Linked DNA regions of Homo sapiens: region 2 is linked to region 1. Evidence: promoter capture Hi-C in human tissues and cell types (Jung and others, 2019). All regions are on one chromosome and are shown on one strand. Each heading gives the region's core, a stretch centred on a gene start or on the middle of the fragment in contact. The rest is flanking DNA. Distances are from core to core; before and after follow the strand shown. Region 1 holds the start of SLC39A12 (solute carrier family 39 member 12). Region 2 overlaps CACNB2 (calcium voltage-gated channel auxiliary subunit beta 2).

The links. Contacts are between HindIII fragments. The study calls those that stand out against the background at their distance.
Region 2: a fragment that was not itself captured here is called in contact with the fragment with the promoter of SLC39A12 in region 1 in 1 of the 25 tissues and cell types used here (bladder).

Annotation. Positions count from the first base shown.
Region 1 is chr10:17,950,579-17,953,278 of GRCh38, reverse strand. It overlaps SLC39A12 (solute carrier family 39 member 12), which reads right to left and starts at 1,361. Exons shown (of 13, transcript NM_001145195.2): 1 at 1,254-1,361; 2 at 1-88. The coding sequence starts at 2. The HindIII fragment of the contact is 7,346 bases long and covers 1-2,700 here.
Region 2 is chr10:18,465,775-18,468,474 of GRCh38, reverse strand. All of the region lies in intron 3 of CACNB2 (calcium voltage-gated channel auxiliary subunit beta 2), which reads right to left. Among named protein-coding and RNA genes, the nearest start is that of CACNB2-AS1, 72 kb to the left of the region's middle. The HindIII fragment of the contact is 7,793 bases long and covers 1-2,700 here.

The DNA of each region.
Region 1 (2,700 bases), core at 112-2,611:
ATTTCCACGCTTCCTCCACCTTGAGTCTGTCTTGGATGGAGGTGAGTGTGTTGCCGTTTATGGGGTAAACTTGTAACCAAAGGAATTTCTGTGGTAAAGGGGAAAAATAAAGCCTTCAATTATTGTGCCTGCAACATGTTTGAAAGGATTCATTAATTGGGTGGCTAAGCTGATTTGCAATGACAAGCTGTTTCTACACAGCGGGGGTCTGTAGGTAATTTCTAACCCCAAATGGCAGGAAAGCACCATGGCTGTAGACTTTCAAACTGCACAGCAGCCAAAAAGCTTGCTAGATTCTCTCTCCCTAAACTAAACATAGCGTCACGTAAGTTTCTCCATTTACCAACAGGTGGTACAAGTTATAGGACCCAGGTTGGGAAACACCTTATGTTTATCCCATTATAAAGAACTCCAAGTGATTCATGGTCCTCATGAAAAAGAGAAAATAAATTCTACTAAATGACCAACATCATGTTGAGTTTAAAAGTTTTAGGCCAGGCGCGGTAGCTCACACCAGTAATCCCAGCACTTTGGGAGGCTGAAGCAGGCAGATCACGAGGTCAGGAGTTTGAGACCAGCCTGGCCAATATGGTGACACCCCCGTCTCTACTGAAAATACAAAAATTAGCCAGGTATGGTGGCACGTGCCTGTAGTCCCAGTTACATGGGAGGCTGAGGCAGAAGAATTGCTTGAACCCGGGAGGCGGGGGTTGCAGTGAGCCAAGATCGTGCCACTGCACTCCAGCCTGGGCGACAGAACAAGACTCCATCTCAAAAAAAAAAAAAAGAAAAAAGAAAAAAGAAAAAAAAAGAGTTTTAGACAAGGAAAAGCACTAGAAGAAAATAGTAATGTTCAGAAAACACAGGTCTTTTTTTTAGTTTACTAAGAATCAAGATTCTAGAGCAGGAAGCATCTTAGAAAAACAGAATTTCGAGACCTCAAGAACATGACACACACACACACACACACTCACTCAGTGGTGACTAAAGGAGTGGGGGATGACTTTAGAGCCAATCAACTTCCTGGAAAAAAAAATTATCTTTCTGTTGATGGCTTAAGGCATGTAAAATGTTAACAGCATCTCATGTCCGATCCTGGCCCAGAGATGAGCTGGTAAATGACTGTGGGCTAGTAACAAAGGTACTGGGATTACTTTTATGAGTTAAAAACAACAACAACACTTTAAGGTTGTTATGTTAGCAATTTAAAAGTGACAGAGGATGATGCAAGCATTTCTAACCCCAGTGCTTACCTTCAGAAGAAAGATAAACGATTCTTTATCTGGAGCTCCACAGCCTTTTAAATCCTGGAGAGTATTTCACAGTTACAAAGTTCCCTGTTTTTAAAATTCTTTGACTGTGCACTGGGAGCTAGAGAGGATTATTTCAGCCCAGAAAAGTTTTCAGTTGCTATGGAGAGAGCTGCTCTGAAGGTAACAATGAAGGTGGATAAAAGGGAGAACTTTCTGTCTGGTAGATTTTCAAGGTAATCAAATCAGTGTGGTTCATGAATTTAACTTTTTAGATCAAGAATTAACCAATTTTCTTAGGCTCACCTACTGTCACTTGCCTTTCAAGGGACAGAATCTAGGTCAAAGGATTTCACCTCGCAGAATAGAAAGACTTCAGTGTTAGATGAAGATTTTTTCCTCTCCAGTTGATTCTGTAATAACTGTTTCATCCAGGCTCAAACCAAAGATTTGTTGAAAAGATAGGCTCTTTGGAACCATATTTGTTTTGCAAGATGCAGAAGCCTAAAAGATTGAAGTCTTTCGTAATGAGATGCTTTCAAATGAAAAGTATTGGTTGAAGGAATGAAATTCTTACCAGGGATGTAGGTAGCATAAATGAGGAACTTTAATCAGCTGCATATATTGTGATCACCAGCACCGGTGGTAGTTCTTACATCAGATCCTTCATGCTCCTCAAAACAAAACCTCTCAACAAATTATTAGTGAATAAATGACTAAAGGAACAAAGTGGTTCATTTTCTAGGAAGCAAGAGAAGTTAAATCCTAAGATTTCAGAGTGGGCAGAATGCATGCCCACAGTATAGGGGTTTAAGTCAGCTGGTGGGCAGGTAGAGGAAATTTGAGATCAGGATGATTAGCCTCATCACTAATTGTATATGAAACACGGGAACCCTGCGGTAGGATATTCCTGAGAGAATGCTAGTAATGAGAGATGACAACTTGCTAGCAGCCCTGGCTCGCTCTTGGCGCCTCCTCAGCCTCAGCTTCAGCTCTCTCCGTCTTCAAGGAGCCCTTCAGCCCGCCGCTGCGCTGTGGGGGACCCTCTCTGGGGCTGGCCGAGGCCGGAGCCGGCTCCCTCTGCTTGCCGGGAGGTGTGGAGGGAGAGGCGTGGGCGGGAACTGGGGCTTGATCAGAGGCTGAATCCCGTGCGTGGACCAGAACGTTGGCCACGATGGCGGGTCTCCATCTCTTTCTTGCTTCCCGTCTTTTGCTCTTGATTGTCTGGGACGAGCTCCCTCTAGGCTGCTGGAGTGCCCGGGCTAGGTGCTCCGGATAGGTGCCACAAAGTCCCGTGGCTAGTGCCAGTGAGAGGTGAAGCCAGCTGGGCTTCTGGGATGGTGGGGACTTGGAGAACTTTTCTGTCTAGCTAAAGGATTGTAAAAGCACCAATCAGCGCTCTGTGTCTAGCTAATCTGGTGGGGACTTGGAGAACGTTTGTGTCTAGCTA
Region 2 (2,700 bases), core at 200-2,699, 520 kb before region 1:
TTTTTACTGTTGTTGTTGTTTGAGACAGGATCTGACTCCAGGCTGGAATGCAGTGGTGTCATCTCAGCTCACTGCAACCTCCACCTCCCAGGCTCAAGCGATTCTCCTGCCTCAGCCTCCCAAGTAGCTGAAACTACATATGCATGCCACTATGCCTAGCTAATTTTTTTAGTGTTTTTTGTGGAGATGGGTTTTCGCCATGTTGCCCAGGCTGTTCTCAAACTCGAGCTCAAGAAATCGGCCTGCCTTAGCCTCCCAAAATGTTGGGATTGCAGGCGTGAGCCACCACACCTGGCCTGTATATTTAAGTTTTTCAGTAATCCTGAGAAAAATTGGTGTTTGAGCACCCCAGTTCTACAGGCTACTTACTTTCCTTTATTTCTGATCAACATGTGCCTGGTAAAGGTATGCTGTTTACTAATTTTAAGATGTAGGAATGCCATCTTCCTTAAGGCCCAAGTCATACATTGTGAATTCATTCATTTCTTTAATTCACAAAAAAACACTTTTTGGGGACACTAACAATATTGTATGTATCATACTAAGCAGTAGGGGAATTCAAAGATGAACATAACAAAACAGGAAATCAGAATCTTGTAGAGGAGACAGGCTTACAAACAATTGCAATGCATTGTGAGTACTTTAGCATAGTTAAGAACAAAAAATGGAAGTTTTGCAAAGTTGGGGTTGATAGACTGTGCCTGGGGAGGGGTTTAGAAGAGGAGCAAGTTGGCAGCAAAGTTCCCAAGGGAGGACCCATTTGAGTTGGGTTGAGGGGACAAATAAATTGGGCTCCCAGGTTCCTGACTGCCACTGTCAATGGAGAATAGTAAATTATTTTCCAATTTCTCCTACTGCAGCCCACCAGATTCTCCTTCCCTAGAAATCCTGCAGCAATTAACGCGTATGTTAGTCAAATGGCATCTGACATCTACTGTTTTGCATTGCTCTGTATCTTTTACGTAGGTCTAGTCTTACTAGACTGTAAATTCACCAAACTGCAAGCTTTTTGAGGTAGGAACCACCTCCTATTGTTTTCCCAGTTGCTGGCATACACCAGACACCAATAAATATTTGTGGACCTCAAAGTTAGACTTAACACTCTCTGGGAACACAGACAGTCTTCAAGTGTGAAATTGCCAATACTGAATTTGAACACCAGTGTTGATGCCAGTTAGTAAATATTTGAATCTTGTGGCAAAAGGAGAATGCAAAGTGAATTTATTATTTCAATTGAATTACTTTAGAATAGATTATTTCAGAGTTTTCAAAAAATGACAATGTTTTTCTGTTTCATCCTATTCCATTTATTTATTTAACAAACACAGAGTCTTGCTCTGTTGCCTGGGCTGTAGTGCAGTGTTGTGATCTTGGCTCACTGCAACTTCCGCCTCCTGAGTTTAAGCAATTCTCCTGCCTCAGCCTCCCTAGCAGCTGGGATTACAGGCACCTGCCACCATGCCCGGCTAATTTTTGTATTTTTAGTAGAGACAGGATTTCACCATGTTGGCCAGGCTGCTCTCAGCTCCTGACCTCAAGTGAACCGCCCGTCTCGGCCTCCCAAAGTGCTGGGATTACAGGTGTGAGAACCACACCCAGCCTCATCCTATTCCACTGAAAACATTATTTCCACATTATTCGGACATTATTAAATTCCATAGTTTGTTTAGACATGCTTCAATCCGGGGCCCAGTTTATTAACATATTTCTAATAGTTGTGGGTCTGGAACTTGTCTCCCTACCAGGAGCTAGAATTTTTAGATGAAAGATTGTGAAGTCCCATTAAAGTGTGAATCTCTTATTCCTTCAGAAATTGCTAGTATCTACAATGGATTCTCAAATTAACAGCTACAAACGAAATCAATTTTCTTACATCTGCCAAAACACCAGGAGAGAACCTTCTATGTAGGACTTTCATATAATTCAAAAATTAACAACCATGACCAAAAAACCAAGCTGATGAGAAATACAGGTAAAATATTGACAGGCTGAGGCAGGAGCATTGCTTGTGGTCAGGAGTTTGAGACCAGCCTGGGCAACATAGTGAGACCTCGTCTCTGTAAAAAATTTAGCTGGGCATGGTGGTGTGCTGGGACCTGTAGTCCCAGCTATGCAGAAGGCTGAGGCTGGAGGGTTGCTTCAGTCCAGAAGTTTGAGGCTGCAGTGAGCTATGATCATGTCACTGCACTCTAGGCTGGGTGACAGAGCGACACTGTCTCTAAAAAATAAAAAATATATAGATTAAATAGGCAAAAGACGAACTCCAGCTTTAGTGTCTGGAAGTTATAACTCTACTTCAATGGTTGAAAGGTTTTATTTGCTACTTAGGGATTCTTGGCTTCGTGCACCGTAACTGGAATGTCAGATAAGTCATCCCCAGGGTAGGGAGGTGTGCCTGTATGTGTTTGTCAAGTGTTGTCACTCTCTTGGGAGGTTTAGATAATTTTATTAAGTGCCAAAATGTTCAGTAACAAAACCTTTATAAAGAAGTTGGGGCCGGGCGCAGTGGCCCACGCCTGTAATCCCAGCACTTTGGGAGGCTGAGGCAGGCAGATCACTTGAGGTCAGGAGTTCGAGAGCAGCCTGGGAAACATGGTGAAACCCTGTCTCTACTAAAAATACAAAAATTAGCTGGGCGAGGTGGTGGATGCTGTAATCCCAGCTACTCGGGAGGCTGAGGCAGGAGAACTACTTGAACCT